Regions from separate parts of the Homo sapiens genome. Here region 2 is linked to region 1. The links are contacts of gene promoters, found by promoter capture Hi-C in human tissues and cell types (Jung and others, 2019). All regions are on one chromosome and are shown on one strand. Each heading gives the region's core, a stretch centred on a gene start or on the middle of the fragment in contact. The rest is flanking DNA. Distances are from core to core; before and after follow the strand shown.

What was found. Contacts are between HindIII fragments. The study calls those that stand out against the background at their distance.
Region 2: a fragment that was not itself captured here is called in contact with the fragment with the promoter of STX11 in region 1 in 1 of the 25 tissues and cell types used here (heart left ventricle).

Annotation. Positions count from the first base shown.
Region 1 is chr6:144,147,227-144,153,507 of GRCh38, forward strand. It overlaps STX11 (syntaxin 11), which reads left to right and starts at 3,291. Exons shown (of 2, transcript NM_003764.4): 1 at 3,291-3,477. RefSeq lists a silencer at 2,978-3,417. The HindIII fragment of the contact is 13,668 bases long and covers 1-6,281 here.
Region 2 is chr6:144,584,748-144,591,028 of GRCh38, forward strand. The region is part of intron 51 of UTRN (utrophin); the gene reads left to right. Among named protein-coding and RNA genes, the nearest start is that of SNORA98, 180 kb to the left of the region's middle. The HindIII fragment of the contact is 3,686 bases long and covers 2,195-5,880 here.

The DNA.
Region 1 (6,281 bases), core at 2,041-4,540:
CTTCATCTGATGTTTTTATTCTTTCACTCCAAACAGGCTTTGGTCATCCCCCACTAAAACTCTTCTTACCAAGCTCACCACTGACCTCCATGTGGCCAAGCCCATTCCTCAGTTTTCCGTCCTAATTTTACACACTGTAGCAGCATTTCACAGTTAATTGTTCTTTTTTACAAAAATTTTTTTAATTTGGCTCCTGAAACGTGCTCTCTCTTGGTTTATCTATCTCACTAATCAGAACTTCTCATTCTCTTTTTTTGATTCTTTATCTTCCTAACCTCTGAACTTTGGAGCATGCCAGGACTCAGACTTCAGACATCCCCATTCTGTCTGCACACCATCTATATGCTAAAGAACTCCAAATATATACCACCATCCCAGACTCACCTAACCAACTGCCTTCATGACAACTTGACAACTCCAAACTGAAGGTGTCCAAAATGCCACTCTTAATCCCCAGCAATCTTCACCTTTCCTCCCCATCCACAATTTACTTTTTCAGGCAGTCTTCTCCATGGATTCAAAGGTTAATCTCAGCTGAGCATGGTAACTGATGCCTGTTAACCCAGCACTTTGGGAGGCCAAGGTGGGAGGATCACTTGAGCAGGGGAGGTCGAGGCTGCAGGGAACCATGATCATGCCACTGCACTGCAGCTTGGGCAACAGAGTGAGCTGCTGTCTCAAAAAAATTAAAAATGTCATCAGCAAGCACCCTCACAGACACACCCAGGATAATGTTTTACCAAATATCTGGGCACCCCATGGTCCAATAAATTTGACACATCAAATTAACCATCACAGCTTTCTAACTCGTTGGCCTGTTTTAATCTTTGTCCTTTAATCTGTCCTCAACAAAACGGTAGATTAAAAAAACAACCAGCAACATCATTTAGCTTCTCTGATAAACATTCTTCAGTCTTCCTGTCTCAATCAATGTAAAATGTAAAGACTATCATGACTACCAATGCCCTACATGCTCTACTCCCCACTCCTAGCCCCACCACCATCACTCTTCCTGGACTCTGTTTTGCCCACGCTGATATTTCTCCCAGAAGCCCAGCATGCTCCTGCCTCGGGGCCTTTACATCCACTGATTCCTAGGCTTGAAATGATCTTAATCCCAATAGCTGCATTGTTTCCTCCCTCAATGATTCTCTTATCTTAGATGGCTTTGCAATATACCCATTTTTAAAAATATAACATACCTCATCCCTCTTATTTTACTTTCTTTTAAAATAAACTGTATTTTTTAGAACCGTTTTAGATTTACAGAACAACTGCAAAGGTAGTACAGAATTTCCATAAATTCCATTTCAGATTTCCCTATGATTACCATCTTACATTACATTCCTCACAACTAATTAATCAACCTTGATTCTTATTACTAATGAAAGTCCATGCTTTATTTAGATTTCCTTAGTTTTTCCCCAAGTCCTTTTTCTGTCCCAGGATCCCATCCAGGATACCACATTACATTTAGTTTTCACGTCTCCTGAGTTTCTTCTAGGCTGCGGCAGTTTTTCAGACTTTCCTTATTTTATTTTATTTTTTGTAGAGACAGCATCTGGCTATGTCGGCCAGATCAGGCCTCGAACTCCTGGCCTCAAGCAATCCTCTCGCTTCAGCCTCTCAAAGTGTACGGATTACAGGCGTGAGCCACGTCTGGACTGTACTTTCCTTACTTTTGATAACCTGACAACTTTGAGGAATATTGGTCAGGTATTTTGTAGGATGTTCCACTACTGGAATTTGTTTGATATTTTTCTCATTATGAGACTGAGGTTATGGTTTTCCAGGAGGGAGACCACACATGTAATATGCCACATTCATCACATCATATTGACTACATGCCATCAATGAGTCACGATTGTTGACGTTGGCTTAGAACATCTGGCTGGGGTAGTGTCTGTCGGCTTTCTCCATTGTAAACCTACTGTTTTTCCCTTTCCACATTGTACTATTTTGGAGGAAGTCACTGTGCACAGCCTAGGGTACATGATCTACATAAATTATTTGGAATTATTCTGTATAGGAGATTTGTCTCCTCTCCGCCTTTTATTTATTTATTCAATTATTTATTTATATCAGTGTAGACTCATGGATTTTTTTACTTTGGCTTGTAATCCAATACTACCTTGTTTAGTTTACTTCGTTGCTCAAATGGTTCCATCTTTGGCAACTGGGAGCTTTCAGGTGGTTCCTGTGTCTAAACATTCTGCCATCAAGGCAGGATTCGTTCTTTAGTTTTATTTTTTTTCTTCTCATTCAATTGAGACAGCGTCTCATTCTGTCGCCCAGGCTGGAGTACAGTGGCGCGATCTCGGCTCACTGCATCCTTGACCTCTCAGCCTCAAGTGATCCTCCCACCTTAGCCTCCCGAGCAGCTGGGATCACAGCGTGCGCCACCACGCCCAGTTAATTTTTTTATTTTTTGTAGAGATAGGCTTTCACCACATCGCTCAGGCTGGTCTCAAACTCCTGGGCTCAAGAGATCCTCCCCCTTCGGCCTCCCAAAGTGTTAGGAATACGCGCGTGAGCCACCGCGCCCGGCCCGATTTTTCCTTTTTTGAGTATCACTTCCTTACTTTTCAGCCTCAGCCTTGTTTTTCAAGGTGCTTTACCACCACCTGGCACAATCCACACTTTCTATTTATCCCTCCCCGTTAAAGTGCCGGGACCTGGAGGGTGGGTCTTGGCAGTATTTTTGAGCGCGGTGGGCACACAAGGGGACGCTCAGTTGATATCCAGAGAATGATGAGCCCGGCGGGTGTTGAGGCCGACTGGAGAGAGGTTGGTCGGCAGGGTTCTGGGAAGGCGGTGCTCGGCCTCCGTGTGACCGCAGGCTCCTCGCCCGCGTCCTCGAGGGTCCCAGGGATGCAGGACCTGCCGCAGCTTCCGCAGCCACACCCACGCTCAGAGACGGCTTCCAGCGTCCTCGCCGCGGCAACGCACCGGACTGCAAATGTCACCAGCGCAGCGGGGATTCCCGGGGGAAGTCCAGCGCGCTCCCTGCCCTGGGGACCAGAGGACGAGCGGAGGAAGTGTCTTGGGCGGCAAACATCCCACTCCCCGCGCCGGTCCGCGCAGCCCGCGGGAACGCCCCTGGGCTTGCGGGAGGGGCTGGAGCGCGTCCCCGGCTCCGGGCGGTCCCGAGCGCATGGACTCTGGGTGGGGCGGGAACCCGCGCTCTGTGAGCCGGCTGCCGCCGCGCCCCAGCGCTGTCATCCCGGGGCGGGGCCTGGTCCCCAGCTGTGGTCGCTTCCTAAGCGGCGGGGGCTGAGCCGGCGGCGCCCAGATGCGGCCGCGGCGGCGCGGAGCTCGGGCGGCCGTGGAGGAACTCAGCCTCGGCCGCAGGAGGCGCCGGGAGCGGAGCCGCCGGGAGTCGCGCAACAGGTTTCCTTCTCCATCGCTGCGCCCACAGGGGACGCGCGCCCTGCCGGGAGAGGGGCTTCTCGGTTCGCACTCTCGCTCCCAGTCCAGGTTTGTTTTTCTCTTCCTGAGCCCCCATTTCTCTTCCTGACTATTTTCCCCGTGCGCGGAGAGATCGGGGAGGGCGGGTCGGGGCGGGGGCACTGTCTAGGCTCGGGACCCGCGGCTGTGCCTTAGGTGGGATTTTGGATCTGGCGCAGGTCCTCACGCCGCCTCTGGGCACCTTCGGAAACACAGCATTGGGTTTCTCATATAAAGCAGAATGATTTTTTAAAATTACTTTTAATTTCAGAGGCTGAGGGACTTAGGATTTAGTGCTTCGTAAGAATTATTTTAGGGATACCTGTTGGTAGGCTGCCTTTATAAAGTGTCCACCCAAGACTACTTTTATTTTAAATCGAAAGGCTGGAGTGTTTTTTTATTATCACCTCTTCACTTCCTAGTAGGGTGACTGTGTCAAAAACACCAGAATGGGTACTTCTTGACTTGAACTTGGCGGTGTCACTCAGTAGCCAGGAAAGACGGAGAAATTGATAGAGCCTTCGAGGAGTCCCTTCGAAGCCCACGTAAGACTTTGTTTTAGAAACATGGAGAGAAGTAGTGGCAATGCCTGCGAGAGCCACGCCGTCCTGAGAGGGAATTCTGCCTTTTTCTAGACTCCGCTGACACCAGCTGAGATCTGTATTACTTCCTGTGGTTCTCACGCACTTGTTTCAGCCGTTTCTCAGCAGAGGGAGGAGCTGTTATTTACAGGTATCCAAAAATGAGTCACAGGGCTGCTCTCTTAATTGTGAGACTTTGTTAATGAACTTTTGAAAAGCGAGGCTTGCTTTAAAATGAGACTCTAGATGTGAAATGCCTGCCCTGCCAACCTGGGGCAGTGGTATGGGAAGTGACGATTGAGTTTTCAGTTTCCTAAGGCGCCTGATGTTACAACATGCCAGTAAAGGTCACTGGGCTGATCTAAGATAACCATTGAAATCATGTGCTTTGCCACAGATGCCCAAGAGAAAATTAATTTCATTATTCAATGACCATTTTGCTGTCATTTTCACTGCATGGGAGAAAGGTATCATTTAATGTGGTGATTGTAAGTAACTCTCTAAAATCAAAATATTTCAGACAGTTTGTGTTTACTAAATTGGTGCTAAAACCACATGATGATTTTTGAAGCGGGTGGGTCCCAGCGGGAGCAGAGAAATTTAAAAGTTGAAGCTGACAAGTCCTATTGCGGTGGGTAACAGCCCTTAGGAAGGGACTGCACACTATCTCAACACGGTAGAGAAGGGGACACCATCTCTACTGGAGCTGAGTTGAGCTGAATTCAGCCTCAAACAACAGTTACCAGGTACCTTCTCTGTGCCAGCCTCTTCCCTGAACCTTGCTTGTACAACCATGAATAATAGGATCCTGCCGGCAAGGTACTAGGGTAAATCTATACCCAGAGTGAAGTTTCTGTGCCAATATAACTCAATATGCTGGGTCCCAGTGTATTTAAAGAGTAGACTCAGCAGATTATCACCCCTAGATAATTGCGGTCACGATTAGTTGATAGTGTGACTTTTAAGAAATAGTGTGACTAATTAATAGTTTATTTAAATATGCTGGAAAATTCAATATAATGAGATAGGTGCTAGGGTAAATCTATACCCAGAGAAAAGTTTCTGTCCCAATATGACTGATGTTTCTGAAGATCTGGGATTTGGAATGGACTGGGTCATGGCTGGAAGAGCAAGGAAACTTTTGAGTTTAGTCATTTACTTGTCTTTGTAGGCAGCCTATTCTTCATTTGATACATGATTTAAAAATGTATGAATTTGAAAGGTATGGTTTTTAAAGTGCTTGAATGAACCATGTTTCATGTTATTTAATAACCATGTAAAACGAAATTCAGCTGATTATCACCCCTGGACAATTGCAGTCACCTTTAGTTAACAGCATGACTTTTAGGAAATGGTGTGACTAATTAATAGGTTGTTTTGTTTTGTTTTGTTTTTTGAGACAGAGTCTCACTCTGTTGCCCCAGGCTGGAGTGTGGTGGTGCAATCTTGGCTCACTGCAACCTCCACCTCCTGCGTTTAAGCAATTCTTGTGCTTCAGCGTCCCAAGTAGCTGGGACTACAGACACCCACCACAACACCCGGCTAATTTTTGTATTTTTAGTAGGGACAAGGTTCGGCCCTGTTGGCCAGGCTGGTCTCGAACTGCTGACCTCAGGTGATCTGCTTGCCTTGGCCTCCCAAAGTGCTGGGATTGCAGATGTGAGCCACCATGCCCTGCCTAATAGTTTATACATTGGTAACACTATATTGAAGCGAGTTTATGATCATTGTTTTTGTAGTTCAAATCAATGTTTTTTATCACATTATAGCCGTGTGAGCCAAAATGAATAAATCTACCGTATCACAGTTTACTGTTGCAATTGAAATCTGCTGAGATGCTTTTGAACTGGATGCCCAAGTATCAAGGTTTCCAAGTTTCCCCAGTTTGCTAAGATATCCAACTGGTAAAGGCAACAATGCTAAATTTCAGACAACTTTACCTTAATTTCCAAACTTTATTCCTCCTTTGAGAGCCCTAAAGTTACTTTTTCTATGAGAAAGAAAGGGTCGAGTTTGTCATTCAGCATTGTACTCCCTGAACTTGGCCCAGGCTTGTCTCATGATAAGTGTTAGAAAGTGTTTATTGATGGAATAATGAACCTTCACGTAGGAGGATGAATTGTCAGGCAAGTGGAATTGTCTGCTGTAGGTGACCCAGCAGAAGGAACAGCACCCATAGAGAAGTGAAACAGCACTGGACGTTCAGGAAACTCCAGCCTGTTTAGTGACGGCACAGAGGGAGGCCTACGGAGA
Region 2 (6,281 bases), core at 2,788-5,287, 440 kb after region 1:
AGTTTTATTTGCATAAGAAGTTAATTAAAACTTAATGGAGCTTAATTAATTCAGTTACAAAGATTTGTAAACCTAGTTATTTCAATGTGTTGTGTTTTGCTCTACTTCAGTGGATAAGTTTATTCTGGTAAAACATTTATGTTTTTCATGAAAAGGCAATTTTGATAATAGATAAGAAAAGCTCATTCACTAATTCATGCTATTTAATTTTTTTAACTACCAGTATGAATGTATAAAGCTTTCTTTTTTTTAAGAGCAGGGTCATTTTCCTGATCCGTTTGTGTGTGTACTTTCACAAAACCAAATATTTTTCTAAAGTCGAAGGTATTAAGTTAGTGCAAAAGATGAAACAGCAGAAGTCAAGTATTGGAGAAAGTTGCTAATTAGTTTGCTAATTCTACCGCAAATAGGCACAAGTTAAGTCACTGAAGTCATTGGATAAATTACCATCAGAAGTGCTTTTTGGGAAGACTTCTTGATTTATAATTTCCTAAAGATACCATGAAAATTTAAATGTTTAGAATAAATGTTACTTATTTCATTTAGAGAATTAAAATTTACATTATTTGCTGTTGAAATACTATCTTCCACGTATTCTTTCCCATATGCAAAATTAACAACTGCCTGATTAACGCAATGAGAAATGTACAATTCCAGTACATTGCAGCAGGTGTCAGTATAAGGCAGTGACATAGGAGATTTTGCCTAAAGAACTGGAAATCCAGATTAGGAAGCGGCACAATTACTATGAAATAAATAAACTAGTAACAGATAAATTTTATTTGTGTGGTTATATTTTGAAAACTGATCTAAGTTATTGAGCTATATTAATGTAATGAAATGAAAATTTAGTTGTAGACTTAAATATTAACAGTTGCCATCTCAAATATTGATAGAGGTAGCTATACCAACCAAAAATACTTAATTGTATTTTAATTATCAATAGTCCATGTGTCATACCTAAAAGTTTAAATGGGTTTGACATTTATTTGCTTTAAGACACTGTAAATTCCCTTCCCATTAAATTGTAAATGCTGTCTTGACTTTCTCCTTATTCCTCCCACATTCTCTAAATTTAGTTTCTTAGAAAAAAATGCTTTAAGTTTGTGTATCTCCATAAAAATACAGAAACAGTCTATTGTAAATACATGTAGAGACCAAAATGAATGAGAATAAAATGTGGCATAATCTGAGGGAAATTTGACTATTTAAAATTCATATTGGCATTTTGAAATTCAGTGTCTGAATATTTTTATCTTCTTTTAAATTCCTCTTGAGGATCATTCTTTTTATGTATTATTTGTTTAGTCTTTTGTTAGACTTTTCCCTCTGTGGCAGCTCGTCTTTTCTGCTTATTTTCATACTTCTCTTGTTTGTCAGAAGATAGTGTGTGTGTTACACGAGTAGATACTTGTGTAGAATATTCTCATTTTGTGGGTTTTCTTGTATGTTTCAAAGAGAAGGGAGGAATGAAAAAAGGCATGTCACAGCTCTCAGAGTTAAAATATACTCCCCTCCCACAATCTATTTACACATTCACGTGTATTTTTTGCCTTTAAAAATATTTCTTCTCGGTTATACATCCAATAAAATTTGAGCAGGAAGCAAAAACGTAAGTGCTGCTTACTTGGAGATATAATTAGCAGCATTGAAATTGCCCTGATGACCTAAAATCACCCTACACTGGATGCTAATTTTCTCAGATATGGTTTTGTTTGCTTAGTTTCTTTAAAATTTTCATGCCTATAAAATAATTTTTCTTTTAGTAGAGCACAGTAGAAAAAAAGCTGATGTAAATGATTTGAAAAATAATATTGAATTTAATTTGTTTTTATTGTTACGTGATTACTTTGGGGTGTTTTATATCATGAAGTCTTTAGATTAGAACTGGGTTATTTGTGTTAATGTTAAATCAGAAGAGATTTTTGTAAGTCCTCCTTATTTTTTTCTTAGTGCCAATTTCTGTAAAATATTTAGCAATTGAGGGCATGGTAAAAAGCAGTTTCCTGTAAAGTAGATTGGGATATGAACATTATAGAAAAATGAGAAAAATTTAAAAATATTTAGTGCTGTAAATTGACTCCTTCGTGACTCAAGCATTTTAGAAAATGTTGATTTAAGTGATATAACTTCTATTTGCTTGAATGTATATGTAAATCATTTTAGTTTAAGTGGTTTTAGTCACCCCCCAAACTATTCTGATCATATTTCTTCAGCAAAAATCTTTTAAACATCTAGCTGTATATAGATGTGTATTCATTTAAAAATTATACATATATGCCATGGTGAAATCATGTATTAAATATTAGTAGTGTATAATTTTGTTCTTACTTTCTACTGTTGCCTTTTTGTACCACAGTTGATTCTTTTTCTCTATGTGGTATACACAACACGATTTTGGTGACTAGTCATTTACATACAGAGTGAAACTATGGCTATTCTTAGCCTGGCCTTCTAGGGGGCTTGAGCTTTCAGTGTGGTGCTGATCTCAAAGTCTTCCCCGGAATACTGTGTCTTCTGTGGTATTAAAGCAACTACTTCTGAATATTCTGTGAAAAATAGAAGAGACCAGAAGATTCCACCTGGGAAGTCACGATTGACCAGTGATGTCTACAAAAGGCTTGCTTTGTGGCTGTGTGTGTGTGTTTTCATGTGTGGACGTGGACAACACAGAACTATGTAGTTGCTTGTAGTGCTAATGAGTAAATAGATAATGAACATGAAGGCACATTAATCTCTCAGCAGGTTTTTATGTTCACTGATGAAGTAAGGTCACATATTATTTTTCATCTACATGTACAGCTCCCTGTATTTAGAGGTAGTTAAGGTTGAGTATGTGGTTTTTTAGAAGACACTGAATGGAGTGGTGTATTTTCGACCGGTTGAATTTTGTATTTTTTACTCTCAAACATTTCCCCACCTTTTTTTCACAGGAGAACCCTGCTCTCCTTGGACAATTAAATCCTGAAGTGATCCAGGGCAATGGAGATTTACTTTAACATGATCTGATTGTTGAGATGTGTGTATTTTAAGGTCAACTCTTGGATTCCCTCAGTTTCTCTCAATAACCAACTCATACATAGATTGTTTGAACCATGGAGCTCAGAGTCATGACCCTCTAGTCTGCAAGTTAGAATTCCCACTTGATCATATGAGTTGTCTCTTCTTGGCTTCATGAGAAAGTCTTGGTTAGATTAGTACAGAAACTGTGTGAAGGTTGAGGTTTAATGGAGAAAAATGGCGTATGTAGATGGGTTTGCCTCCATCTAACCCTCTCTATGGATGCTGTAGGTGTGTTTCCTGGGAGCTGTATGGATACCCACACAGACTACTTTCTCTACTCTGCGTTTGTTTCTGCACTTCCTAGTCAGGTCAAGATTACAGACAAAAGTGAGACGGGATCAAGGAGAAAACACCTGCACCCCTGCCTGCCACTATCAGACATGATTCCTGTGGCTTCCAAGAGCACAAGTGCCATTTTAGAAAGCTCTTGGACCTCTGTTTTGCTGTAGTTCCCCAAGTTGATATGTGTTGTCAAAATTATGTTTTTAAAAAGTTATCCAATTAACTAACATTTTCTTAATCAGAAAACTCATGCTATCAATGACTTGGATAAAGTCAATATAATTAGCTAAAAACAGTATAATTAGATCTGATGCAATGCTTTGTCACTCACTTAAAGAATAACTAATACATTCTATAAGGTAGCATTTTAAAATTCTTTTATAGCCAAGATATCATTATCATTGGTGTATGTCTAGAAGTGTAATACTAGTACAAATCCGGAACAAATAGAAGGTCCTTCTGAGATGGAGTTGAAGTAGTATTAAGGATACGGATAAAAGGTCTCTTTTATTTGTAGAGTATTATTTGATAATTGTAACTTAAAGGGTTGATGATTTGTGTTTTCCTAGAGGCAAAGTTTATTAAATTTCAAGTGGAAATTTCCTAGCTGTAGGTACTGCTAGATTTTAAATGTGCAGACATAGCTCCTTCCTCTTACTCTTAACTGTGATCACTACCAACTTCTCTTAGTATATTTGGTAGTTTATTTTTAGTTCTCTAAAATAAGTAATTAGTAGAGTTCCTACCATAGAGATAAAAGAATGTAGAAAATGTTATGCCTTGGTAGCTTTCTCAGTTTCACAAAGCTTATTCATTTCTGGGCGAGGTAAATGAGTCCAAATAATTGAAATTGGAAAGGATGTGAAGTGCATCAGAGGGTTGCTTTTCATTTTTCATCTTCTAGTTTGTTCAGTTCTGTGGAACTCTAAAAAGATTAATTTATAACAAAGCTCACTTATAAAAGCAGACAGTGCCTTTTAGTGCTTAATAAATAATAGGCTTATGTGAAAGTATGGCTTCATAAAGTTAAGCAAGAATTTTGGAAAAACATCAAATGGAAGAAGATGTTGAACTGTTTGCACAATAGACAACTATTTTGTTTTTATTTTAACAGAATTGAGAGAAAAATGGCTGACTACAACAATAGAATAACTGTTAGCTGTTATGATGGGAAAATATCTTGATACTGCTAGTACAGTTTCCTTACATTTTTAGTATTTTAGAGTTTACAATGTGTTTTCTCATATATTACATCATTAATAAATGTAATATTAACAATATTATATTATCTTGTGTCCTTAAGAGATAGATAGGAAAGAAATTTGTTTTGCAAGTCAGCAAGTGAAGGAACATGCCAGTAGTTAGTTGCTCAGCTAGTATGCGGTGCAGCTTGTGTTCAACATAGATTTTCTGCTTCAATAGCCAGTGTCTCTCTACCTGTAATTTTAGATAGAGAATTTTTGGAATTATATTGGGATAAAATGGGTCACTCAGTATAGAAGATATAGAAAGAGAGATTACATTAACTAAGTAATAGATATTGTTTTGTTCTGAATTATTTCCATATGCATTTCCTTGTCTAAAGAAATTTCACCTGCAGTCTCCTTTAAAACATGAGCTGGAGCATGAGAACATTCCATGTTCCTTTAAAACATGGAATTCTGGAGAATGAGGAGATGTTGGAAATCATCTGATTCAACCATTTCATTTTGGACATAAGGAAACAGAGATAGTCTATAATGGATGTTTTATTGCTGACAGCTTTTTTTTTTTCTTTTTTTGAGACAGGGTCTCTGTCACACAGGCTGGAGTACAGTGGTGCTATCATGGCTCACTGCAGCCTTGACCTCCTGGGCTCAAGCTATCCTCCCGCCTCAGCCTCTCGAGTAGCTGGGATCACAGCTACTGTGCATGCCACCACACCGGGCTAATTTTTTTGTATTTTTTTTGTGGAGACAGGGCCTCACTATGTTGCGCCGGCTGGTCTCAAACTCCTGAGCTCAAGCAATCTGCCTGCCTCGGCCTTCCAAAGTTCCTGACAGTTTTGAGCAGGTGGCTATGTACTTGTTTTCCTAGAAGTTTAAAAGTAAGGAAATATATTCTTTTCAAAACTATTTCGATGTTCGATGTTCAAGTATTGGCTATATAATGTTAAGGAAATAAAGATTTTTAAAAATGAGTTCATTTTGCACTTTGATAAGAAAGATGGATTGGGTCATTTCCATCCATATTAAAATAGTTGGTTCTGGTTTTTGATTTATAACTTAATTTGGTTTGATTCTTAACAGTACAAACGTTAAATTATGTGTTCATTGAACCCAGTTCTCCATACCCACATGTAGTTTTTTATCATTATATTTAAAAGGACATAATAGCTCCCTAAGAAAGAAACTGAAAGGAGTCAACTAACTTAACAGACTGAGTTGTTTAAAATAAGAAATATGTATATATTTTTAAAAAATTTAATTCAAAGAACATGTATTGAATGGCTGTCATGCATCAGAGATATGTGCTAAGCAGCATAAATGTAAAATGCAGTGTTGCATTTTCCATGGGAAACAAGGAAGTACAAATATGTTGTTCTGAGGAATTTTAGTCGTTCACACGAGTCTAGCGTGAGACTAAATTCAAACAGTTCTGGCTTTGCCACTTACCAGTTATGTAACCTTGGCAAATCCTTCCACATCTCTGTGTTTCAGTTCCCTTTTCAGAAGATAGGGTTGGAATTAGTCTCTCTCTCTCTCTCAATCTACACACACACACACACACACACACACACACACGCACATGCACACACACACACACACATAAGGTTGTTGTAGGAGTTAAATAAGTTAATATTGATAAAATGGTAAAAACAAAGCCTGGCACATATCTGCTATGTGGGTTGGCTACTGTTGTTACCGTTACCACTATTGGTAGGATTATTCTCCCAC